6 separate regions of the Homo sapiens genome follow, and all the other regions are linked to region 6. The links are contacts of gene promoters, found by promoter capture Hi-C in human tissues and cell types (Jung and others, 2019). All regions are on one chromosome and are shown on one strand. The core of a region is centred on a gene start or on the middle of the fragment in contact, and the rest is flanking DNA. Distances in the headings are between cores, read along the strand shown.

The links. Contacts are between HindIII fragments. The study calls those that stand out against the background at their distance.
Region 1: a contact is called between a fragment that was not itself captured here and the fragment with the promoter of ZNF442 in region 6, in 1 of the 25 tissues and cell types used here (mesenchymal stem cells).
Region 2: a contact is called between a fragment that was not itself captured here and the fragment with the promoter of ZNF442 in region 6, in 5 of the 25 tissues and cell types used here (heart left ventricle, lymphoblastoid cells, mesenchymal stem cells and 2 more).
Region 3: a contact is called between a fragment that was not itself captured here and the fragment with the promoter of ZNF442 in region 6, in 1 of the 25 tissues and cell types used here (spleen).
Region 4: a fragment that was not itself captured here is called in contact with the fragment with the promoter of ZNF442 in region 6 in 3 of the 25 tissues and cell types used here (dorsolateral prefrontal cortex, mesenchymal stem cells and spleen).
Region 5: a fragment that was not itself captured here is called in contact with the fragment with the promoter of ZNF442 in region 6 in 7 of the 25 tissues and cell types used here (H1 embryonic stem cells, IMR-90 fibroblasts, dorsolateral prefrontal cortex and 4 more).

The regions. Positions count from the first base shown.
Region 1 is chr19:12,226,545-12,231,127 of GRCh38, reverse strand. It overlaps the pseudogene LOC100289333 and a transcript of ZNF44 not described here. Among named protein-coding and RNA genes, the nearest start is that of ZNF136, 66 kb to the right of the region's middle. The HindIII fragment of the contact is 3,310 bases long and covers 1-3,289 here.
Region 2 is chr19:12,522,498-12,526,909 of GRCh38, reverse strand. ZNF564 (zinc finger protein 564) reads left to right here. Exons shown (of 4, transcript NM_144976.4): 4 at 1-1,537. The coding sequence ends at 464. Among named protein-coding and RNA genes, the nearest start is that of ZNF564, 27 kb to the left of the region's middle. The HindIII fragment of the contact is 4,073 bases long and covers 1-4,032 here.
Region 3 is chr19:12,560,152-12,564,799 of GRCh38, reverse strand. It overlaps the pseudogene PGK1P2. Among named protein-coding and RNA genes, the nearest start is that of LINC02926, 11 kb to the right of the region's middle. The HindIII fragment of the contact is 4,912 bases long and covers 1-4,648 here.
Region 4 is chr19:12,208,606-12,212,955 of GRCh38, reverse strand. It overlaps the pseudogene LOC100289333. Among named protein-coding and RNA genes, the nearest start is that of ZNF136, 48 kb to the right of the region's middle. The HindIII fragment of the contact is 4,844 bases long and covers 1-4,160 here.
Region 5 is chr19:12,126,553-12,130,600 of GRCh38, reverse strand. No RefSeq gene overlaps it. Among named protein-coding and RNA genes, the nearest start is that of ZNF20, 12 kb to the left of the region's middle. The HindIII fragment of the contact is 9,523 bases long and covers 1-4,048 here.
Region 6 is chr19:12,363,998-12,368,501 of GRCh38, reverse strand. It overlaps ZNF442 (zinc finger protein 442), which reads left to right and starts at 2,819. Exons shown (of 6, transcript NM_030824.3): 1 at 2,819-2,969; 2 at 3,259-3,700. RefSeq lists an enhancer at 2,906-3,005 and a silencer at 3,106-3,285. The HindIII fragment of the contact is 16,775 bases long and covers 1,814-4,504 here.

The DNA.
Region 1 (4,583 bases), core at 385-2,884, 140 kb after region 6:
AGGCTGGGTGACCGAGTAGAAGCATCACCATCGTGGACAAGCACCTCATTTTAAAAGTCACCTTAATCAAAAACTGCCTAAATCCAAAGGGCATCAGCCTAATGGCTAAGTCAGCATGATCATAAACCACAAATAACATCTCCAACCAGAAACATTCCAACTCCTCCCAGACCAGAGACATGCTAGCCCCAAGATAATCCACCTCTGCCCAGAGACATTCCAACGCCCCCATAAACTTCTCCCCTACACAGAAACATTCCAAGCTTGTAATAAGCCCCCTCACCCTAAAACCAATATACACTCTTAGTCTGTAAGAGAAAGCACTTCTGACAGAAATCAGCCAGAAGCCCCTCTCAGGTTTTTTCTAAAATAAACCTGTCTTTGACTGTCAAGCTGCATTTCGTGTTTCTTTCCTCTAACTCTTACATTTGGTGCCGAAACCCAGGATGGGTGCTGGGGGCAGAGGCTCTCCTGCAACCCAGGAAGCAGTGGGCAACAGCAGCTTGTCCTGAGTTAATTCCTGGATCCTGGAGGTCTCTGGCCACCACTCGTTGTCTTTTTATTCAGTTCACTTTTCTCTAATCCTCCCTTTTCTCTCTCTCCCTTGTGCAGCTGCAGCCCAAGAGGCCAACTGGAACGTTAACATCAGACACTAATCCAGCTGACTGGTAAGATCTGCCCTCCCCTGGCTTTCTCATGGTATCTGGAAAAAGTCAGGTCTGCCATCTCGGTCCTCAGAGGACCAGTGGGACTAAGCTAGAGGAAATCTTGGGGATGCCCAGTTTCTTCTCAGCTTGACCATCCTCTTTAGAAAGAGAACTCCAGGTCTCTGTCTTTTGTCTGGGGACGCCTAGAACAAAAACAGACACCCTCGGCTTCTTCTTGCCAGTCCACATGGGTGCCAAACAATCCCACATTCCCACACCCTCTCCACTGTGCTGTCTCCTTCACAACCTCGCCAAACTTGGCTTAAGCATGTAGTCTTTTATTGTAACATGGCCTGGCCCCAATACACATTAGATAATGACAGCTGATGGCCCAAAAATGGCACCTTTAGCTTGCAAATTCTCAGGAACCTTAACAACTTTATAACCAAGAACAGCAAATGGCAAGAGGTTCTCTATATTCAGGCTTTCTGCTTCTACTTTAAATCCCAACGCTCCCTGTGTCAAGTTTGCACCTCTCATAAAATCTTTCTTCCTAAATCTTTCTTCCTGGCTGAGCGTGGTGGCTCACGTCTATAATCCCAGCACTTTGGGAGGCTGAGGCGGGCTGATCACGATGTCAGGAGATCGAGACCATCCTGGCTAACACGGTGAAACTCCATCTCTACTAAAAATACAAAAAATTAGCCGGGTGTGCTGGCGGGCACCTGTAGTCCCAGTACTTGGGAGGCTGAGGCAGAAGAATGGCGTGAACCTGGGAGGCAGAGCTTGCAGTGAGCAGAGATCACGCCACTACACTCCAGCCTGGGTGACAGAGCAAGACAAAGTCTCAAAAAAAAAAAAAATATCTTTCTTCCTAATGAAAACCCTCTCCAGGTCTTTCCCTCCTCCAAGCTATGAGTATATTCAAAAGGCTTCTCTTCATAGATCTTGTTTTCCTGGAAAAGGTTTTTTCCCAGTTAACTGAATTACTTTTTTCCACTCTGTCTTGCCACTCTTGGTGCATGTATAAAATCCTAAAACGGTTTCTGGTGGCCTGGGATCCCTTGGGAAAACAGAAAAGGCACCACAAATCCCATTTTGGGAAAAATCTGTTTTCCTTATGGAACCCCTGGAATTAAAGGTGAATAAGTACCTCTCAAAATCTTTGTCTTCCAGCTCTACTTGTTTATTAGGCCCTGGAAACTGTTTTCCTAGCCCTGTTCTTAAAGGGCACCACCCAAAGGCCAATAAGCCAATTGGGAAATTAGGAGAAAAAAAATATTGTAACTACTGAATCTTCTTCTGGTTGTCTGTGTGGTTATATATGTGTTATGTGTGCAATGTCTATTAAAGGAACTCTAATTATAATTGGCAAAAAAAATAAGTGCTTAAATCAAATATTTTTAAGGGAAAAGTAAAAGCTGTGGGATCTTTCAGTTCACATGACTTTAATCTTTAAAACTTACTGGTACAGTAAAGTTAGAACTGTCTTAAGAGTTACCAGCATATGTTTTTGTTTGCATTTATTAATCAAGCAATTTCATTCTTATCTCTGCCAAATACTATAAGGTATCAAAACAAACAAAACTATGACTCAGCCCAAACAAAATAATCTTTGTATAATTTTTTAATAAGTGAAACATTAATATTGGTTTAATGAAAATAGCTACATCCTAAGCCATTTAATATCCTAACTTCTAATCTTATGGACTTAGGCAGTCTAGTCCACAGGCATGAAGGAAGTTTGTTTTGGGAAAGGACTGGTATCTTTTATATTAAAAGATAATTTATATTTAAAAATTTTATATGGTAAATTTTTGTACTAAAGTAAATTAACTGGTTGTTTAAAGAGAGAGATGTTTACAACAAGTCAGAAAGTTGAGGCATGTCAGACTGTGAAAGGCATGAAAAATTTTATAAATGGAATTTATGCAAGAAATGTACAATTTAAAAGTGATTAGGCCTCCTGACTGCTTTATAAAATGCCCCTATAACTCTTACCTGTACAACTTGCCTGCTTTGCAGCTAGGTAAAACCTAGGACACACGGAATTAAATGCTGGACTAAGCCAGACCTTATCTGCACAGAAGTCTAGGTCCTAGGCTCTACACCTAGTACATAATTAAAATCCCAAACTTACCAAGGTTTTCAACAAAAGTAAACTTTACTGAAAGTTAATTATGTGGAAAGTGTGTAAGGAAAGTAAAATACACTTTTGGTAAAAAGATTATAAGGAGGCATGAGAATGTGGATTTTTACCTACATTAAAAAGTTAAACAATTGTTTTGAAGGTTTAAAAAAGTTAAGTTAAACAATTGTTTTGAAGGTTTAAGCACGTTTTGGCAGGTTAATTGTAAAGGAAATTCTGTGTAAACATATTGGCTAAAGTTGAAGGGGTAGCATCTAGTTTTTCTGTAAATTGAGCATTAAAATAAAAACACAACGGGTTTCTCTTAAGCACTAACCTGCTTTTTAACAAAAATTATAAAGGGTTAAAAAGGGTCTATAAAAATCTTACCTTATGGTCAAACATTAAAATTGAGTAAATGCATCTACAAGGTTTTATTAAAAATGGAGTTTAATATTCATAGCACACTACTATAATGGTAAAATTTGGCATATTTGGTATAAAATCATACAGGAAGCATTGTCAAATACAAAATGGTGTTTGGCTTTCTTTGGGCTATATTTGTATAAGTATGTTATTGGTATGTGTTTCAAAGTTATGGGAGACTCCTATAATTCTGACATATCTTAGTGTACCTTATAAGTAATAATTATAATTGTTATGTTAAAATTATTGTGTGCCACAAAGGTAACAGATATCCTTGTCAATTGCGTCTTTAAGTATGGCTATTCTAAAACTTTTTTTCTGAGACGGATTTTCACTTTTGTTGCCCAGGCTGGAGTGCAATGGCACGATCTTGGCTCACTGCAACCTCTGCCTCCTGGGTTCAAGCAATTCTCTTGCCTCAGCCTCCAGAGTAGCTGGGATTACATACAGGTGCACACCACCACACCTGGCTAATTTTTGTATTTTTAGTAGAGACGAAGTTTCACCATGTTGGTGAGGCTGGTCTGAAACTCCTGACCTCAAGGTGATCTGCCTGCCTTGGCCTCCCAAACTGCTGGGATTACAGGCATCAGCCACCACGCCCGGCCTATCCTAAAACTTTCTGTCATCCATAAACAATTGTTGTCTTGTTTTGGTCCTCTTTAAAAAGGTGGTTTTATAATCAGCTATAAAGGTCTAACAGGTGCCCTTGAATGCAAGTTTCTGAAAATTGTGATATCACAATAGAGGAAAAACGTTCAGAACTCTTAAAAAGCTAAAATGTTAATATGAATCAGGACAGGAATTAACTGCATGAACTAAACTGCAGGAGACTGGAGTGATCTTTTTTGTTTGTTTGTTTTTAAGACAGAGTCTTGCTCTGTAGCCCAAGCTGGAATGCAGTGGCATGATCTCGGCTCACTGCAGCCTCCTCCTACATTCAAGCGATTCTCCTGTGTCAGCTTCCCAAGTAGCTGGGATTACAGGCGTTCGCCACCACACCCGGCTAATTTTTGTATTTTCAGTAGAGATGTGGTTTCCCCATGTTACCCAGCTGGTCTTTAACTCCTGACCTCAGGTAATCCACCCACCTTGGCCTCCCAAAGTGCTGGGATTACAGATGGGACCCACCACGCCCAGCCTGGAGTGATCTTTTTAACGTATTGCTTAAAATATTGCTAATTCTTTGTTTTGCTTTTCAAAGTCCAAGAATCTTTTCTTTTGAATTATTGACAGCTTTTAACAATTTAGTATGCTTCCATGAACAAAATTTGGAGCATTCTTGTTTCTCTCTACCTGATTTTCTCCAGAATTTGGAAACTATCTGTATGTATTCTTAAGTTAGGGTAATATAGTTATTTGCATAAGTGCAACAAGAATCT
Region 2 (4,412 bases), core at 747-3,246, 160 kb before region 6:
GAGCCTTTGACTGTCCCAGTTCATTTCAAATACACGAAAGAACTCACACTGGAGAGAAACCCTATGAATGTCAGGTATGTGGGAAAGCCTTCATTTCTCTTAAAAGGATTAGAAAACATATGATACTGCACACTGGAGATGGACCTTATAAATGTCAGGTATGTGGTAAAGCCTTTGACTGTCCTAGTTCTGTCCGAACACATGAAAGAACTCATACTGGAGAAAAACCCTATGAATGTAAAGAATGTGGGAAAGCATTCAATTATGCCAGTTCCATTAGAATACATGAAAGAACTCATACCGGAGAAAAACCCTATGAATGTAAGCAATGTGGAAAAACGTTCAGTTATTCCAGTTCCTTTCAAAGACATGAAAGAGCTCATAATGGAGATAAACCTTACGTAAAGAATGTGGGAAAGCTTTCATTTATCACACAACCTTCGAATACCTGTGAAAATGAATAGTGGAGGACAGGTCTACAAGTATCTACATATCTAAAGAATATGGAAAGTCTTCAGTTTGCTTTCTGGGTTTCAGACTTGTTTGGGAGCTCACCCCTTTCTCCTGTTTCTCACTTTTGGAATAGGAATCTCTATCCTGTGCCTGTCTCATATTTTGGAAATACATGACTAGTTTGGTTTTCACCGGTTCGGAGCTGAAGAAGAATTTTGCCTCAGCATGAATTGAGTCTCATCCATATCTGAGTGATGTGATATTGAGATGACACTTTGGAGTTTGAGTTTAAACATTAGGCTTCATGCTGGAATTAACTGAGACTTTTGAGGCCTTTGGGATGAGATGAATATATTTTACATGTGATGACATGGATTTTGGGGGCCAGAGGTGTAATGTTTTGGCTGAGTGTATGCCACCTCAGATTCATATGTTGAAACCTTACCCCCGTGCCCCCCCTCTCCCCCACAATGTGATGGTATTTGGAGGCCCTGTCTCTGGTGGTTTTTAGGATTGGAGGACATCATGAAGATGGAGGCCTTGTAATTGGGATTAGTTTCCTGATAGGAATCCCTAGAGAGCTAGCTTTGCCCTTCACCATGAGAGGGTGCAGTGAGAAGATAGCTATCTTTGAACCGGGAAGCAGGCCCTTACCAGACATGGACTATGCCAGTGCCTTGATATTGGACTTCCCAGCCTCCCAAACCATGAGAAATAAATGTTTGTTGATTAATTAAGCTTTCCAATTTATGGTATTTTGTTTTAGCAACCCAAGCTAAGACACAATCCAATTTTAAAATGGAGGAAAGGACTTGAATAGACATTTCTCCAAAGAAGATACCCAGATGGCCAATAAGCACGTAACAATGCTCGACATCTTTAGTCATTAGGGAAATACAAATCAAACTCAAGACATACATAGCATCTCATTAGGATTAGTAGTATCAAAGATGGAAAACAAGAAATACTGTCAAGGATGTGGAATGTTGGAGAACATTGTGCACTATCACTGGGAATGTACAGTGGTATAAGCCTGCTGAAAACAGTATGGCAGATCCCCAGATTAAAATATAGAAATAACATATGATCAGCATTTCCATTTCTGGGAAAATAAAAAGATTGAAAGCAGGGCCGGGCGTGGTGGATCACGCTTGTAATCCCAGCACTTTGGGAGGCCGAAGCAGGCGGATCACAAGGTCAGGAGATTGAGACCATCCTGGCTAACATGATGAAACCCCGTCTCTACTAAAAAAAAATTAGCCGGGCGTGGTGGCAGGCGCCTGTAGTCCCAACTGCTCGGGAGGCTGAGGCAGGAGAATGGCATGAACCCGGGAGGCAGAGCTTGCAGTGAGCTGAGGTCGCGCCACTGCACTCCAGCCTGGGTGAGAGAGCAAGACTCCGTCTCAAAAAACAAAACAAAACAAAAAAGATTGAAAGCAAAGTCTCAAATAGGTTTTGTACACCTGTGTACATAGCATCATTCACAATAGGTAAACTCTGGAAACTACTCAGGTTTTCATCAACAGATGAATAAACAAAAGGAAGTTTATACATACAAGAGAATATTACTGAGTCTTACAAAGTAAGGAAATTTACAAATATGCTGCAAGATGAACCTTGACGTGCTAAGTGAAATGGGCCATTCATGTAAAGACAATACGGTATGATTCTACTTATATCAGGTATCTAGAGTAGTCATATTGATAGAAAAAGTACAATACCATTTGCCAAAGGTTAGGGAAATTGGGTAATGGATAGTTATTTCATGGGCATAGAGTTTCAATTTTGCAAGATAAAAAGGGTTCCAGAGGTGGATGGTGGTGATGGTTGCACACTAGTATGAATGTTCTTAATGGCACTGAACTGTACACTTAAAATTGATTATGATGGTGAATTTTATGTATGTTTTACACACAAAAAAGGGAGAAAAGACCACAGTACTGCATAGACCTTGTGGGACCTTCAGCATACCAAGACACTCTAGGTCTCTCTTTTTTTTTTTTGAGATAGGGTCTTGCTCTGTCGCCCAAGCTGGAGTGCAGTGGTGAGATCTTGGCTCACTGCACCCTCTGCCTCCCAGATTCAAAGGCTTCTCATGCTTCAGCCTCTTGAGTAGCTGGGATTACAGGTGCGCACCACCACACCCAGCTAATTTTTGTATTTTTAGTAGAAACGGGATTTCGCCATGTTGGCCAGGCTGGTCTTGAACTCCTGATCTCAAGTGATCTGTCCGCCTCGGCCTCCGATAGTGCTGGGGTTACAGGCGTGAGCCACTGCGCCTAGTCTCTAGGTCTCTTTCCTACTTGTTCTCAGCACTGTTTTTTTCGTTTTTCTATCCATGAGGGACCTGTTCCTACACAGTCCATTTGGATTTTAGTAGGCATTTAGATTTGATCCCCAGGATTGACTTCCCTGTCTCCTCCCCCCTTCACTGTAGACCTGGACCTCACTCCCAGACCCAGGGCCTATGATAACCACTTCCCTTTATTGAAGAGGGATACTTTTAATTTCCTCTGCACACTATTCACAGACATGTATATCAAATATATATCTGATAATTTAAGCAAATAGAAATTCTTTGCTCGGAAATCTTTAAGAATATGAGAAGAAATAGCAGCATATAGTGTCCAGAAAAGGTGGGAGAGAACTTCTTAGGTATGGAAAGTTTATGTAATAGGTAATGTGTAACTATTTACCACTAATTCTGTACCTGGGGTAAAGGTGGTGTTCAAGAAATGGAGAGCCAGGCCTGGTGTGGTGGCTTATGTCTGTAATCCCAGCACTTTGGGAGTCCGAGGCAGGCAGATCACTTAAGGCCAGGAGTTCGAGACCAGCCTCGCCAACACAGCGAAACCCTATTTCCACTAAAAACAGAAAAATTAGCTGGGTGTGGTGGTGCACACCTGTAATCCCAGCTACTTGGGAGGCTGAGGCAAGATAATTGCTTGAACCTGGGAGGCAGAGGTTACAGTGAGCTGAGATCACGCCACTGCACTCCAGCCTAGGTGACAGAGCCAGACTCCATCTCAAAAAAAAAAAAAAAAAAAAGCAGTGGATAAATAAGTCACTGCTTGCACAATAAAGAAATAAATGGGCCAGGCACAGTGGCTCATGTCTGTAATCCAGCACTTTGGGAGGGTAAGGCGGATGGATCACGAGGTCAGGAGTTTGAGACCAGCCTGGCCATCATGGTGAAACCCCAACTCTACTAAAAATACGAAAAATTAGCCATGCATGGTGGCTGACGCCTGTAATCCCAGCTACTCAGGAGGCTGAGGCAGGAGAATTGCTTGAACCCAGCAGGCGGAGGTTGCAGTGAGCCAAGATTGCACCACTGCACTCTAGCCTGGGCGACAGAGTGGGACCCCATCGCAAAAAAAAAAAAAAAAACAAAAAACAACTCTGCAAGGAAATGAAGCAAGTGATCCCTCTTGGAGTGGATTTCATGAAGTACCTTTAAATGGCAGAACATCAGGTTTCCATTTCCAAAATTATTTTTCTTCATGCTCTGACTGAAATAGTGACTGGTGTTGGAGAAACGGGTGGAAGATAGCGTAATAAACCAAATTGTTCTTTCTAGTGGGGAAAGCATGAATCACCCAAAACTAATAATCACGGAATTTACTTACATGGTATGGAAGAATAAGCAACCATAGAAGAAATCAGAATAGTTGTCACAGAACTAATTTACAAGCATTAGTGCTGTTTCCCAGGCCAGGTTCTATCTTGTTCTCAAGGAATAGTTACATCTTCAGTGTAAATTATGGGTACCATTGAGAGAAGTTTTACTTTCTACTTTATGAAAATGATGATGATGACAATAATACCGCAACATGAGTACTGCTAATGGAAACACTTTATGCCCAGGCACAGTGGCTCACGCCTGTAATCCCAGTACTTTGGGAGGCCGAGGTGTGCAGATAGCTTGAGGTCAGGAGTTCAAGACCAGCCTGGCCTAC
Region 3 (4,648 bases), core at 1,076-3,575, 200 kb before region 6:
CAGGCTGGGCGCGATGGCTCATGCCTGTAATCCCGGCACTTTGGGAGGCCGAGGCGGGTGGATCACTTGAGGTCAGGAGTTCGAGACCAGCCCGACCAACGTGGTGAAACCCCGTCTCTATTAAAAATACAAAAACTAGCTGGGCGTGGTGGCTCACATCTGTAATCCCAGCTATTCGGGAGGCTGAGGCAGGAGAGTTACATGAACCTGGGAGGTGGAGGTTGTAGTAAGCCGAGATTGCACCATTGCACTCCAGTCTGGGCGACAGAGCAAGACTCCGTCCCTCAAAAAAAAAAAATGTTCTGAGCAAAGGAAAGACTGATCTGATTTAGGTTTTGCGTAAATATCCTCCAGCTATGGGCTGCGGGGCGTGTGTCGCTGGGTGGGTGGGTTAGGTGGACAAAACTGGATCCTAGTGCCTATGCGCCCCTTTAAAACGAATAAAAAGACGTAGTTCTCAACCAGGGACGTCCTTGGTGATGCTCTGCTGGTCCTGCAGCCTGAGGGCTTTTTCCAGACGCTTTGACCTGTGCACTTCTGCCCCCACGCGGCCAATGCCTGAACTGCAGCAACGTCCTGCAGACCCAGTTTCCTTTTTTGGTACCAGGCATATGCAGGGCGTGGACAGATCCTACAATGGAACCAGCCAGAGACTGCCCTAGAGAAACTCATATGCCGGGATTTGGATGTTTGTAGGATAACATCATGAGCAGCAGCTTTGCAGGACCACACATGTTCCAGGGAGATTCTCAGAGGAGGGATCTTTGGGCAGTGTCTCCAAAGACCAGTAAGAATATTTCAGGAAGACACAACAAGAAAAAATATTCTAGGCAAAGTGAAAACTGACATTGATACCCCGACCCCAACCCCTCTTAACTGCTACTTCCGACCTGGGTCGTGGAGCTACCATTCAAGCCCTATACCCAATACTCATCTTGAACTACTTAACTACTTATTTATGTATTTATTTATTTATTATTATTATTATTATTTTGAGACGGAGTCTCACTCTGTCACCCAGGCTGGAGTGCAGTAGCGCGATCTCGGCTCACTGCAACCTTCACCTCCCGGGTTCATGTGATTCTCCTGCCTCAGCCTCCCTGGCAGCTGTGATTACAGGTACCTGCCACCATGCCTGGATAATTTTTTTTTTCTTTTTCTGAGACAGAGTTTCACTCTTGTTGCCCAGGCTGGAGTGCAGTAGCATGATCTCGGCTCACTGCAACCTCCACTTCCCGGGTTGAAACAATTCTCCTGCCTCAGCCTCCCGAGTAGCTGGGATTACAGACACGCACCACCACGCCTGGCTAATTTTTGTATTTTTAGTAGAGACAAGAGTTTCACCATGTCGGTCAGCCCAGTCTTGAACTCCTGACCTTGTGATCTGCCCGCCTCGGCCTCCCAAAGTGCTGGGATTACAGGCGTGAGCCACTGCACCTGGCCCCACCTGGGTAATTTTTGTATTTTTAGTAGAGACAGGGTTTCACCATGTTGGCCAGGCTGGTCTTGAATTCCTGACCGCAGGTTATCCACCCACCTTGGCCTCCCAAAGTGCTGGGATTACAGGCATGAGCCACCAAGCCTGACCTACTTATTTCTTCTCACTCCCATCATCCCAATTGCCACCACCCAGGTCTAGACACTCACCTGGGTACCTGTCAAAGTGTCCTCCTTGGTCTCCCAAACTTCAATTCCTAGTCATTCACCTCGGCACCAAAGGGACATTTTTCTCTCTCTTCCCTGCTCACACACCTCCCATGGCTCCCTAGTGCTCTCAAGTGCAAGTCCAAGCTCCTCAGCCTGGCACCTGAAGTCTTGAAGACCCAGTTCTGCCTGTCCCACTATATCATTAGCATGACCAACTAGAAAGACATTAATAAAAAGAATAGCACTACCTCTATTTATTGAGTGCCTACCTGGTGCTAAGACATGTGTCTTGCAGTTTCAAGGTGCACTCACAACAACTTTATTATCTTCGTTTTACAGAAGGGGCTATTGAGGTTTAGAGAACTCAAGGGACTTGTTCAAGGTCCCCGCCTAAGTATGAACTCAATTCTTTCCAACTCCAAAGCTCAGGCCTAAACCCAACGCTCTGTCCCCTCCATGACAAACCTCTAGTGGGATGGGTTTAACTTTCTTGCCATTTCTGTCTTTTACTCTACTTGAGCCACTATAACAAAATACAATACGATTACAAAATAACAAAATACAATAACAAAATACGATTCTTGACACCATGAAGTCCAAGGTCAAAATGACAGTAGATTCTGTTCTTGGTGAGGGCTTTCTTCCTGGCTCAAAGATGGCTACTTTCTGGTTGTGTCCTCAAGTTGGGAAGAGGGCATAGGGGTGACAGAGAGAAAGACAGAGAGAAAGAGAGGTCTCTGGTGTTTTTTCATTATTATTATTATTTATTAGTAGTAGTATTATTTGAGACAGAGTCTCACTCTGTCGTCCAGGATGAAGTGCAGTGGTGCGATCTTGGCTCACTGCAACCTCTGCCTCCTGAGGTCAAGTGATTCTCCTGTCTCAGCCTCCGAAGTAGCTGGGATTACAGGTGCCCACCACCATGCCCGGCTAATTTTTGTATCTTTAGTAGAGATGGGGTTTCACCATTTTGGCCAGACTGTCTCGAACTCCTGTTCTCAGGTGATCCGCCCACCTAGGCCTCCCAAAATGCTGGGATTACAGGTGTGAACCACTACACTCAGCCTATTATTATTATTATTGAGACAGGGTCTCGCTTTGTCACGCAGGCTGGAGTGCTGTGGCACAATCATAGCTCACTGCAACCTCAAACTCTTGGGCTCAAAGGATCCTCCTGCCTCAGCTTCCCAAAGTGCTGGGATTACAGGTGTGAGCCACCACGCCCAGCCTGGTGTCTCTTCTTTTTTTTTTTTTGAGACAGAGTCTTACTCTGTGGCCCAGGCTGGAGTGCAGTGGCGCGATCTCGGCTTACTGCAAGCTCCGCCTCCTGGGTTCACGCCACTCTCCTGCCTCAGCCTCCCAAGTAGCTGGGACTACAGGTGCCCGCCACCATGCCCGGCTAATTTTTTGTAGTTTTAGTAGAGATGGGGTTTCACAGTGTTAGCCACAATGGTCTCGATCTCCTGACCTCATGATCCACCCACCTCGGCCTCCCAAAGTGCTGGGATTACAGGCGGGAGCCACCGCGCCCGGCCCTGGTGTCTCTTCTTATAAGGTAACTCATTCCATCATGCGTGCCCCACCCTCAAGACCTCACCAATTATCTCCCAGAGGCCCCATCTGCAAATACCAGCACACTGGAGAGTAGGGATTTATTATATTAATTTATTGGAGGTGGGAGACAGAAACGTTTAGTCCCTTTAAATGGAGTTTAATTCTCTTCCCTTTGAATGTGGAGTGCCAGTTTGTTGTTGTTGTTGTTGTTGTTTCGAGACAGGGTGTCACTCCCAGGTAGTGCAGTGGCAAGATTATGGCTCATTGCAGCCTCAACCTCCCAGGATCAAGCGATCCTCTCACCTCACTTTTTGAATTTTTGCAGTAGAGATGAGCTGAGATTCTGTGTAACCATTTAAGGGTTCCCGGCACTGCATCTCTTGGCCACTAGCTGAATCTTGACATGGAAAGTTTTAGCTAATGCCAAGTGGAGATGCAGAAAATGCTAAGTTGACTTAGGGGCTGTGCACAGGAACTAAAAGGCAGGAAAGTACTAAATATTGCCAAGAGTATCAACCCCAGGATGGACTTTACCTTCTAGGAGCTCTAAACCGGCACCACCCCCAGTGCTCACCTGGCTGACTTTATCCTCCATGTTCCATTCTACACAGCAAGTGGCAGTGTCTCCACCACCTCATCCATGAGGGCTTTGGTTCCCCGGGCAAAAGCTTCCCATTCAAAAACCCCTACAGAAGGCCGGGCGCGGTGGCTCATGCCTGTAATCCCAGCACTTTGGGAGGCCGAGGTGGGCAGATCATGAGGTCAGTAGTTCGAGACCAGCCTGGTCAACATGGTGAAACACCGGTCTCTACTAAAAATACAAAAATTAGCCGGGCGTGGTGGCACGCACCAGTAGTCCCAGCTACTGGGGAGGCTGAGGCAGGAGAATCACTTGAATCAGGGAGGTGGAGGTTGCAGTGAGCCAAGACCGCGCCATTGCACTCCAGCCTGGGTGACAGAGTGAGACTCCATCTCAAAAAACAAACAAACAAAAAACCCCAAAAAACCCCACAGGACCATTCCACACAATCTGCTTAGCCTGAGTGACAGCCCCAGCATACTTCTTGCTGCTTTCAGGGCCACAGTCCAAGCCCAGCCAGCCAGCAGGTATGCCAGAAGCCACAGTGGCTTGGCCAGTCTTGGTATTCTCATCAAACTTGCCAGCAGTGACAAAGTCAACAGGCAAGATAATCTTCACACCATTCTTCTCAGCTTTGGACATTAGGTCTTTGACAGTCTTGGCTCCCTCTTCATCAAACAGAGAAGTGCCAATCTCCATGTTGCTGAGCACCTTAAGGAAGGTACAAGCCATTCCACTACCAATAATCATCTCATTGACTTTGCCCAGCATGTTCTTGATCAGCTGGATCTTGTCTGCAACTTTAGTTCTGCCCAGGATGGCCAGGAAGGGTCGCTCTGGGCTCTCCAAGGCCTCGGCAAAGTAGTT
Region 4 (4,350 bases), core at 489-2,988, 150 kb after region 6:
ACTGGAAGAGCTAGTCAGAGTAATTAGGTAAGAAAAAGAAAAGGCATCCAGTTGGGCGCAGTGGTTCACGCCTGTAATCCTAGCACTTTAGGAGGCTGAGGCGGGTGGATCACCTGAGGCCAGGAGTTCAAGATCAGCCTGTCCAACATGATGAAAACCCGTCTCTACTAAAATACAAAAATTACCTGGGCATGATGGCGGGTGCCTGTAATCCCAGGTACTCGGGAGGCTGAGACGGGAGAATTGCTTGAACCCGGGAGACGGTGGTTGCAGTGAGCCAAGACTGCACCACTGCACTCCAGCCTGGGTGGCTCAGTGAGACTCTGTCTCAGAAAAAAAAAAAAAAGAAAAACAAAAGGCATCCAAATGGGCAAGGAAGAAATAAAATTATGTTGGCAGATGACATAATCCTATGTGTAGAAAATCCTAAAGATTACATACACATATATGTACACAAAAACTGAACTCATAAATGAATTCAGCAAAGTTGCAGGGTACAAAATTAACATTTAAAATTACATTTTTTTTTTGAGACGGAGTCTCGCTCTGTTGCCCAGGCTGGAGTGCAATGGTGCGATCTTGGCTCACTGCAACCTCCACCTCCCAGGTTCAAGCGATTCTCCTGCCTCAGCCTCCTGAGTAGCTGGGATTATAGCTGCCCACCACCAGGCCCGGATAATTTTTATATTTTTTAGTACAGACGGGGTTTCACCATGTTGGTCAGGCTGGTCTCAAACCCCTGACCTCATGATCCACCCGCCTCAGCCTCCCAAAGTGCTGGAATTACAGGTGTGAGCTACTGCACCCAGCCTAAAATTACATTTCAATACACTAACAGTTAATAATCTGAAAAGGAAATTAAGAAAACAATTACATTAGTAATAACATCAAAAAGAATAAAACAGGCCAAGCACAGTGGCTCACACCTGCAAAATCAGCACTTTGGAAGGCCCAAGGTGGGAGGATCACTTGAACCCAGAAGTTCAAGACAAGCCTGAGCAACAAAGTGAGACCTCATACTACAAAAAAAAAAAAAAAAAAAATTGGCTGGACGTGCTGGCCTGTGCCTGTACTCCCAGCTACTGGGAGGCTGAGATGGGAGGACCACTTAAGCCCAGGAGGTTGAGACTGCAGTGAGCCATGATTTCACCACTGCACTACAGTGCAGTGACAGAATGAGACCCTGTCTCAAAACAAAAACAAAAACAAAAAAACAGCTAGCTATAGTGACACAGACATGCAGTCCTAGCTACTGAAGATCCTAAGATGGGAGAACAGCTTGAGCCCAGGAGTTTGAGACTAACCTGGACAACGCAGCAAAACGCCATGACAAAAAATTAACCAAAAAAGCAAAAGACTTGTATACTGAAAACTATAAAACGTTACTGAAAGAAATTAAAGCTATAAATAAATGGAAAGACATTCTGTGTTCATAATTTAAAAGACTTAATTTTGTTAAGGTGTCAATATATTACTGCAAATGCTCTACAAATTCAAAGCAATCATTATCAAAAGGCCCATGACATTTTTTTCTGGAAACAGAAACACTCATCCTAAAATTCACAGGGAATCTCAAAGGACCCCAAATAGCCAAAACAATCTTGAAAAAGAACAACAGGCTGGACATGGTGACTCACGCCTGTAATCCCTGGACTTTGGGAAGCCAAGGTGGGTGGATCACCTGAGGTCAGGAGTTCGAGACCAGCCTGGCCAACATGATGAAACCTCGTCTCTACTAAAAACACAAAAAATTAGTTGGGTGTGGTGGCATATGCCTGTAATCCCAGCTACTCAGGAGGCTGAGGCAGGAGAATCGATTGAACCTGGGAGGCGGAGGTTGCAGTGACCCGAGATCACACCACTGCACTCCAGCCTGTGCAACAAGAGCAAAACTCCGTCTCAAAAAAAAAAAGAAAAACAACAACAAAGCTGGAAGCCTCACTCTTCCTAGTTTCAAAACTTACTCTAAGTTTTGGCTGGGCACGGAGGCTCATGCCTGTAATCCTAGCACTTTGGGAGGCTGAGGCAGGCAGATCACCTGAGGTCGGGAGTTCGAGACCAGCCTTACCAACAAGGAGAAACCCCATCTCTACTAAAAATACAAAAAAATAAGCCGGGCATGGTGGCCCATGCTTGTAATCCCAGCTACTCGGGAGGCTGAGGCAGGAAAATCGCTTGAACCAGGGAGGCGGAGGTTGCAGTGAGCCGAGATCGAGCCATTGCACACACACAAAATTAGCTGGGTGTGGTGGCACATGCCTGTAATCCCAGCTACTCAGGAGGCTAAGGCAGGAGAATAGATTGAACTTGGGAGGCAGAGGTTGCAGTGACCCGAGATCACACCACTGCAGTCCAGGCTGTGTAACAAGAGCAAAACTCTGTCTCAAAAAAAAAAAAAAAAAAAAAAGAAAAGAAAAGAAAAAGAGAACAACAAAGCTGGAAGCCTCACTCTTCCTAGTTTCAAAACTTACTCTAAGTTTCAGTAATCAAAATAGTGTGGTGTTGACATGACATAAAGGCAGATATATAGAGCAATGGAGGCCGGGTGTGGTGGCTCACGCCTGTAATCCCATCACTTTGGGAGGCCAAGGTGGGCAGATCATTAGGTCAGGAGTTCAAGACCAGCCTGGCCAACATAGTGAAACCCCGTCTCTATTAAAACTGCAAAAAAATTAGCCGGGCGTGGTGGCGGGCACCTGTAATCTCAGGCTGAGGCAAGGAGAATCGCTTGAACCTGGGAGGCGGAGGTTGCAGTGAGCCAAGATCGCGCCACTGCGCTCCAGCCTGGGTGACAGTGCGAGACTCCGTCTCAAGAAAGAAAGACAAAAAAAAAAAAACAGAGCAAAGGAATAGAATAGAGACTTCAGAGAGATACCCTTAATTTAAATCAGACTTAAGCCCACAGTCCTGAAACCCTCTAAAGCAACCACTGCCATGAGGGAGGCCCATAACCATGATGACACTGACTTGAGGCTCTCTAGAGAATGAAGGATATAAATATAAGTAGGGTACACAGAACACCCCTCTCCCTCACCCTGCAATCACCAAAAGAAAAAAGAAAAAAATTGAGACAAAGGTCCATAATTTGATCAAATTAGAAATCCAAAGTTTATTAAAATAACAGCAAAAAAATAAATGGGTGCTGACTGGGTTTCACACCTCTACAAAACAGGCTCCGAATTAACTTCAACATCCGTTGAAATGCATCAGTTGGCAAATTTCCATGTCCTTAATCAATACTGGGGCTTAAATTACAGTTTTACCTTAAGATACCATTGAATTTAAACATGGCACCCCCTCCCCCAGTATAACCTTATAGCAAATTCCTGAATAACAAACAGGTATGCCTCAACTTGCCTTTATTGGATTTCTTTCTAGTGAGAATTTTCACATGACTTTGACAGTATTTGTTAAAACTGAAAAACTTCCTGTATTTCTCACATTTGTAAGCTTTATATCTAGCACATTCTTATTGCATGTTTTTGTAAGGAGGTGGGCAAGTTGAAAACTCCCACTTTACTTACATTCAAGAAGTTTTCTGCCAGGGTGTATTTTTTCATGGCTTCTAAATGAACTGGGATGACTGAAGGCTTTTCCACATTCTTTACACTTTATAGGGCTTCTCTCCAGTGTGCATTCTCATGTGTCCTTGAAAAGTTGTACAATAAATGAAAGCTTTGCCACACTGCTTGCATACATAGGGTTTCTCTCCAGTGTGGGTTCTTTCATGTATTCAAAAGGAATTGTGCCAAATGAAGGCTTTACCACATCGTTTACATACGTGGGGTTTCTCTCCACTATGACTTCTTTCATGTATTCTAAAGGAACTGGAACAACTGAAGGCTTTACCACATTGTTTACATTCATACGGTTTCTCTCCAGTGTGAGTCCTTTCATGGATTTGAAATGAATTAAGACAATTGAATGCTTTCCCACATTCGTTACATTTATAAGGTGCATCTCCAGTATGCATTATCATGTGCATTTGAAAGCTTGCAAGAGAAAGGAAGGCTTTCTCACATTGTTCACATTTATAAGGTTTCTCTCCAGTGTGAATATTCATGTGTCCTTTTAACGTAGTTCGATAAATGAAGGCTTTCCCACATTCGTTACATTCACAGGGTTTCTCTCCAGTGTGAGTTCTTTCATGTACTCGAAAGGAACCAAGCCAACTGAAGGCTTTACCACATTGTTTACATTCATATGGTTTTTCTCTAGTGTGAATTCGTTCAGGTACTTGAAATGAACTAGGACAACTGAATGCTTTTCCACACTCCTCGCATTTATAAGGTCCATCTCCACTGTGCATTATCATGTGTCTTTGAAAGCTTGCAAGGTAAATAAAGGCTT
Region 5 (4,048 bases), core at 988-3,487, 240 kb after region 6:
ACCACAATTGGCTACTACTTTTTTAAAAAAATCACCTTGAGTCCTATGGGGCCAATATGTTTTTGAAAACTGAATTTCCTGCCCAGTAAAGAACAAAGTCAGCATCACTATTCCAATCAAGTCTTTCTTTCTCTGGTAACATGCTGTTGATGCAAACTTGTCAGGAACCCTCTTATGCTAATATTATGAAGCTAATGACATCGTGGAAAAGTCATGCATGGAACAATCCGATCATTTCCTTTAAGGTGTCATGGGTGCTTCTCTTCACAAAAGCTTATTTCAGTCTCCCTAGAGTAAAAATCCCAGTCCCAGCAGACATAGAAGCAATCACTGACTGACCAAACCTTAACTATGTGTGATGACATATGGAAAATACCTTGATTTGTGAGATATGAATTTTTTTTTTTTGGAGACAGAGTCTGGAGGACAGTGGTGCAATCTTGGCTCACCGCAACCTCTGCCTCCTGGGGTCAAGTGATTCTCCTGCCTCAGCCTCCCAAGTAGCTGGAATTACAGGCACCTGCCACCATGCCTGGCTATTTTTTTGTATTTTTAGTAGACAGGGTTTCACCATGTTGGCCAGGCTGGTCTCAAACTCCTGACCTCATGTGATCCACCTGCCTCGGCCTCCCAAAGTGCCAGGATTACAGGTGTGAGCCACCATGCCTGGCCAAAAATTCCTTTTTTTTTTTTTGAGATGGAGTCTTGCTCTGTTGCCCAGGCTGGAGGGCAGTGGCGCGATCTCGGCTCACTGCAAGCCTCCGCCTCCCTGGTTCACGCCATTCTCCTGCCTCAGCTTCCCGAGTAGCTGGGACTACAGGTGCCCGCCACCACGCCTGGCTATTTTTTTGTATTTTTTTTTTTAGTAGAGACAGGGTTTCACCATGTTAGCCAGGATGGTCTCGATCTCCTGGCCTCGTGATCCGCCCACCTCGGCCTCCCAAAGTGCTGGGATTATAAGTGTGAGCCACCACGCCTGGCCCAAAAATTCTTATTTTGACTATTCATGTCTTATTTTTGCACTTTTTCACAAAGCAAGGTCAAAAAGCAAAGGAAAAATCCTTTAAGATCAATGTACTTAGGTTGAAAATGTGTTTTTTCTCAGGAAAAACTTGTAATTTATATAATTACAATCCTCAGTTTATTTGCAGCATCACCAAATTTTCTTACATATTTCAAATGTGAACTTAAGATATATATTTTTCTCATTATTTACATTTTGCTTCCTACCTATGGCTTTTTTTTTTTTTTTTTTGAGACAGAGTGTCGCTCTGTTGCCTAGGCTGAATTGCAGTGGCACGATCTCAGCTCACTGCAACCTCTGCTTCCCAGGTTCAAGCAAGTCTCGTCACAACCTCCCAAGTAGCTGGCACTACAGGCGAACACCACCATGCCCAGTTAATTTTTGTGTTTTTTGTAGAATTGGAGTTTCACCATGTTGGCCAGACTGGTCTCTAAACTCCTGGCCTCAAGCGATCCATCTGCCTCGGCCTCCCAAAGTGCTGGGATTATAGGCATGAGCCAACATGCCTGGCTCCTCTAGACCTTTTAAATCTTTTACTCATGATATTGGTCAGCCCACGGTCAAAATAATTCATAAAAGGTATATACAAAAATTCAACACCACAATGAAAGTTAAATTCATTTGTTTAGAACCACTCAAGCAACTCAGGTGTACACAGATAGACCTGTGGCAACTGGTGAACAATTAAATGGCACAGAAGTGGCTGGGTGCAGTGGCTCATGCCTGTAATCCCGGCACTTTGGGAGGCCGAGGCGGGCGGATCATGAAGTCAGGAGATTGAGACCATTCTGGCCAACATGGTGAAACCTGTCTCTACTAAAATACAAAAAATTAGCCGGGCGTGGTGGCGGGCTCCTATAGTCCCAGCTACTCAGGAGGCTGAGGCAGAGGAATCCCTTGAACCCGGGAGGCAGAGACTGCAGTGAGCTGAGATCGTGCCACTGCACTTCAGCCTGGCAAAAGAGCAAGACTCTGTCTCAAAATAAATAAATGGCACGGAAGTTGCAATAATGACCTCTGCTGTGCAGTACTCTCTTGGCAGAGATACACAAGAACTCCAATAAGGCCCTCATATGATATGCAGAACTGCCTCAAACATCATGTGACCATAGAACTTTGCCAAGGACAGTCTTTTTGTACATCTCTGCACCTGGCTTACCCAAAGATTGGACTGGGCGCATTTCTCAAGCCATTGTCTACTGAACGTTCTTTGTAGCGTGTGGGGCAATGACGATTGCCTAGGTGTAATTTCCTAATCGCTGGGGTAGGTCTGGTTTCTGAGGGCCCAGCAGAGGAACTCAGTTCACAAAAATGGCTTCCTGTAGTTTCTGCTTGATACTTCCTATTCTGCCATCTTCCCAGAATCCTCTTTCCTGACTTCATATACTAACACGTCATTTCAGATCTCACTACAGATGTCACCACCTCAAGACACTGTCTTCTTTTCCGCCCCCCTTACCCCAACTTGAAACTCAAGGTCACACTCTCTCACCCATTACTCCTATTTCATTTAGTGTGTAGAATTTTTTCAACACACTTGTCAGAATCTGGAACATAACGTTCACAGGGTTGATTGCTCTCTGTTTAACAAGGTAAAAAGTTAAGTCATGTAGGCTGGGTGCGGTGGCTCACGCCTGTTATCCCAGCACTTTGGGAGGCCAAGGTAGACAGATCACGAGGTCAGGAGATCGAGACCATCCTGGCTAACATGGTGAAACCCTGTCTCTACTAAAAATACAAAAAATTAGCCGGGCGTGGTGGCGGGCGCCCGTAGTCCCAGCTACTCAGGAGGCTGAGGCAGGAGAATGGCATGAACCTGGGAGGCAGAGCTTGCATTGAGCCAAGATTGTGCCACTGCACTCCAGCCTGGGTGACAGAGCAAGACGCTGTCTCAAAAAAAAAAAAAAAAAAGTCATGTAAATTTAAGTGTCACCTTTCTTTTCTTTTCTTTTTTTTTTTGAACCTTTTCACCAACTGTTACACACTTTTTTTTTTTTTGAGACAGAGTCTCGCTCTGTCGCCAGGCTTGAGTGCAGTGGTGCGATCTCAGCTCACTGCAACCTTCACCTGCTGGGTTCAAGCAATTCTCCTGCCTCAGCCTCCCGAGTAGCTGGGATTACAGGCACGCACTACCACACCTGGTTAATTTTTGTATTTGTATTTGTATTACAGATGTGAGCCACCGCGCCTGGCTTACACCCTATATTAAAAAGTATTTCAGGGGCCAGGCACGGCGGCTTATGCCTATAATCCCAGCACTTTGGGAGGCCAAGGCGGGCGGATCACTTGAGGTCAGGAGTTCTAGACCAGCCTGGCCAACATAGTGAAACCCTGTCTCTACTAAAAGTACAAAAATTAGCCGGCTGGGGTGGTGGCCACCTGTAATCCCAGCTACTCGGGAGGCTGAAGCAGGAGAATCACTTGAACCTGGGAGGCAGAGGTTGCAGTGAGCTGAGACTGCAACACTGCACTCCAGCCTGGGCAACAGAGCAAGACCTTGTCTCTAAAATAACATAACATAACATAACATAACATAACATAACATAACATAACATAACATAACAACATAACATAACATAAATACAGTAGAGTAGAGTAGAGTAGAATTTCCAACAAAGTCCTTTGAACCATTTTCCAGAAAGGCAACGTCAATGAAGCTCCCTCTTGTGGTAAGGGCGGCATTAACATCCACACACTGTTGTGACTGGATTTCTCAAAATTGCACAGGGATCTAAGAGTGGAAAAACTCAAAATGTTTTTCCTGTGCATTCACACAATGCAATATCTCTATGACCAAATATGTGGAAGATTTTCTCACACAGCAAACAAGCCATCCATTCTCCACTGAACACCACCTGAGTGTCCTCTAATTCACGTGTCCCCAACTCTCGGGTACAGACGGGTACCTGTCCATGGCCTGTTAGGAACTAGGCCACACAGCGGGAGGTAAGCAGAAGCGAGTGAGCGTTACTGCCTAAGCTCTGCCTCCTGTCAGAGCAGCAGTGGTATTAGATTTTCTTGGGT
Region 6 (4,504 bases), core at 1,570-4,069:
CTAAGGGACCCCGAATGGAGGGACCGGCTGAAGCCACGGCAGAAGAACATAAATTGTGACGATTTCATGGACATTTATCAGTTTCCAAAATTAATACTTTTATAATTTCTTACGCCTGTCTTTACTGCAGTCTCTGAACATAAATTGTGAAGATTTCATGGACATTTATTAGTTCCCAAAATTAATACTTTTATAATTTCTTATGCCTGTCTTACTTTAATCTCTTAATCCTGTTATCTTCGTAAGCTAAGGATGTATGTCACCTCAGGACCCCGTGATGATTGCATTAACTGTACAAATTGTTTGTAAAACATTTGTATTTGAATGATATGAAATCAGTGCACCCTGAAAAAGAATAGAATAACAGCGATTTTCTGGGAACAAGGAAAGATAACCATAAGGTCTGACTGCCTGTGGGGTTGGGCAGAATAAAGCCATATTTTTCTTCTTGCAGAGAGCCTATAGACGGACATGTGAGTAGGAGAAATATCACTGAATTCTTTTCCCAGCAAGGAATATTAATAATTGAGACCCTTCCAGGTGTGGTGGCTCATGCCTGTAATCCCAGCACTTTGAGAGGCCGAGGCGGGTGGATCACAATATCAGGAGATCGAGACCATCCTGGCTAACACGGTGAAACCCCTTCTCTACTAAAAATACAAAAAATTAGCCGGGCATGGTGGCACGCGCCTGTAGTCCCAGCTACTTGGGAGGCTTAGGCAGGAGAACAGTGTGAACCCAGGAGGCAGAAGTTGCAGTGAGCCGAGATTGTGCCACTGCACTCCAGCCTGGGGGACAGAGCGTGAGACTCTGTCTCAAAAAAATATATATAATAATAATAATTGAGACCCTGGGGAAGGAATGCATTCCTGGGGGTAGGTCTATAGATGGCTGCTCTGCGAGTATCTGTCTTAATGCAGTTGAGATAAGGACTGAAATACGCCCTGGTCTCCTGCAGTGCCCTCAGGCTTACTAGGATTGGGAAGTTCCAGCCTGGTAAATTCTAGTCAGACTGGTTGTCTGCTCTCGAACCCTGTTTCCTGTTAAGATGTTTATCAAGACAGTGCATGCACAGCAGGACACAGACCCTCATCAGTAATTCTAATTTTGCCTTTGCCTTGTGATCTTTTATTGCCCTTTGAGGCATGTGATCTTTGTGACTTACTCCCTGTTCGTACACCCCCTCCCCTATTAGAATCCCTAATAAAAACTTGCTGGTTTTGCAGCCCAGGTGGGCATCATGGAACCTGCCGATATGTGATGTCACCCCTGGAGGCCCAGCTGTAAAATTCTTCTCTTTGTACTCTTTCTCTTAATTTCTCAGATGGGCCGACACTTAGGGAAAATAGAACCTACGTTGAAATATTGGGGGCTGGTTTCCCCGATAGTAGTCACTCTTCAGCTGGGTGTGGGTTCTGTCTTTGAAGTAATCTTTTGTTGGAAAGAGAATTCCAGAGGTGCCTGGTACCTAACAAGATCCAACCCCTGAAGCTTCTAAGGAAATATATGACCAAATAAGAGAGCATGGTGTGTGCTTAATAAGTATTTAGGTAAATAAATGTGCACAGGCCAGGCGTGGTGGCTCACGCCTGTAATCCTAACACTTTGGGAGGCCGAGGCCGGCGGATTGCCTGAGCTCAGGAGTTCACGACCAGCCTGGGCAACATGGTGAAACCCTGTCTCTACTAAAATACAAAAAAATTAGCTGGGCATGGCAGCGTGCACCTGTAGTCCAGTGTGCTACTCGGGAGGCTGAGGCAGGAGAATTGCTTCAACTTGGGAGGCGGAGGTTGCAGTGAGCCAAGATTGAGCCACTACAGTCTGTCCTGGGTGACAGAGTGAGACTCCGTCTCCAAAAAAATAAAATAAAAATAAATGTGCATAAGGCATGGCAGTGTAGTATGGGAAAGGAAAGGGAGTGGAAGTTCACAGCACATTCTGAGGCTGTATTTTAAGATGAGAGGTAACATCTATGCAGTTTATCTCGAAGTTATTATCTTGAGATCAGGAGGGGAAAGAGGAAAAGGGAAAGAAGAAGAAAAAAAAGGTTTAAAACGTGGTTTGAGACTCAGCTGCTAAGCTGCTGGTTACACACTCTGGGACTCAACTTCAGGAGTCAGAATCTGCCTTCTAAGCTTGAAAATATGTTTAACCTCCTGAAAGGGGGTTTCCTGCTGAACTGTGGCTGAAATTTCTCTGAACTAATTCAGGTTTTTTCTTTTCCCTTCTTTTGATTCCTTTATAGAAGATTACTGCCATATAATTCCAGATTTTCCATGCATTTAACAATTTTATTTCATTGTTGATGTGTTTTTATTTTCTGGTCTGAGAATGAGTAGATTGGGAGATAAGGTGGGAGAAAGGCTTGACCATGGAGCCAGCAGTCTCATCCTAAATTCCTGATCCCTGGAGGACACCAGGCCTTCCCTCCTGCTTCAGTGTGGTTTGTGTGGCCTGGGCCTCCCCTACCGCTCTGAGGCCAGGGGATGGCTCCACTGGGCAGTGAGTCTCGAATTCCCAGCACACACTTGTGGGTCCCCGTCCAGGAAGAAGGAGCAGGAAGAGCCCATTGAGTACAGGCAGGAAATTCCGCTTAAATGCAAATGTCCCCTGGGAGGGGTCAGGTCACAGCGAAGGGAGGAAGCCCACCCTATCAAGGGCTGTGTCTGGAACCGCTTCATCTCGCTCCACTCAGCCGTGTAAGATCCTTCTTCTGTCAATCAGTTCCCTGGGGGGGCGGAATTTGGAGCTCTACCCAATCAGTGTTGGGGGCGAGTTCTTGGGAACTGCCAGTCAGGCGCGCTGCCGGGAGGAGGGTGGAGCTTTCTACACCCCTCTGAGCTCCCGCTCCTGGCTCTGTAGCTGAGAGAAGCCCTGGCAGGTCAGTGGCAGGCACTGTCACGCTGAGTCCTATGCTGGCAGCGGGGAACCTTGGGGAGAACACGGGACACCGCGGAAGCCGGGAAATGGTGAGTGTGCGGGGCCCGGCGTCCTGGGGCAGGGCGAAGGACTGGTTGGAACCGGCCAGAACCGGCTGTGGCGGGACCCGGGCGTCCCCGCGGCGACTGCGGGGTCTGTGGACCCGAGTTCCCCTGGCCCAGCCGGCCTTCAGTCCCCTCGGCCGCGGGGTGGGAGCTGGGGGCTGGGCCGGCAGCCGGGACCCCGGGCGTCCTGTCCCGTTTCTGCGCAGCAACTGCGGCCCCGGCTCCCGCGCCCTCTCTGGGGCAGCTCCATGCCCACAGCTCCGCGTCTTCCCAGATTGTGCGGCTGTAACCGGCACAGGTTCGCGGTCCGAGTCACTGCACCGAGACTCCAAGGCCTGCAGCAGAAACAGTTTAATAGGGGGAGAGGAGAGAAGACCCCAGTTCCGCCTCCATGAGAGGTTTGGGGATGGGGGTGTTTAGGGGTCTGGACAGGGGCGGCTGAAGTGTGGGGTCGCTGGTTGGTGGGGAAGTGACAGGCGAATCCTGGGACGGGAGGTGAAGAAACCGCATTCTCCTGCTGAGTGGGTTCCCTCGTGGGGTTTTCACCCTGCTTGGCGCCAGCCTTTCCGTTGGAATTCAAGATCTGAGAAAGAACTTGGGCAACTCGAGCAGCTCTCCGAGATCTTATCCCCAGGCACAATGCAGAAGCCGGCGGTCAGTGTCTTCTGTGACCTGACTCTCAGGAAGGCGGCCCCCGCGAGGCAGTGGGGCTCAGGGTACCTGGTTAATATCTAACTGCAATCAGAATCCAGATTCTTGCGTGGGGTTTGTGCACGGGAGGAGCTGTGGTCTGCGGGGTCCCCAGTCCCTTCTTTTCTTCCCAGGGTGACTGATTCCTCTTCGAGTTTTTCAGAGATGGGGGTAGCAGGGTCTCAAATCCACTACCCTGTTCCCTCATTCTAACTCCTCCTAGGGGTGGTAGTAACTCCCTTGGTTTCCAGAGCCTTACGCAGGCTAACTTTCCCTCCTCAGTTCACAGCAACATCATGAACTCCTCCCTCCTCCGCCCCACCCGTGCTAAATTTCAGAGTCCCAGTATTTTAATTTTCATTTTGTTTTCAGAGAGCAATGGATGGCTTCTTTTTTTCTTTCTTTCTTTTTTTTTTTTTTGAGATGGAGTTGTGCTCTTGTTGCCCAGGCTGGAGTGCAATGGTGCGATGTCGGCTCACCGCAACCTCCGCCTCCCGGGTTCAAGAAATTCTCCTGTCTCACCCTCCCGAGTAGCTGGAATTACAGGCACCCACCACCACACCCGGCTAATTTTTTGTATTTTTAGTAGCGACGGGGTTTCACCATGTTGGCCAAGCTCATCTCGAACTCATGACCTCAGGTGATCCGCCCGCCTCGGCCTCCCAAAGTGCTGGGATTACAGGCGTGACCACCGCGCCCGGCCGGCTTCTTAAAAGATTTGTGTTCCTGAACATTTCACATGTGAGGAAGCAGAGAATAACCTGACACTGCACTGTAAAAAACAAAAAAACAAACAAAAAAACCTTTGTGTCTCTCCTTTTCTTTCCCCT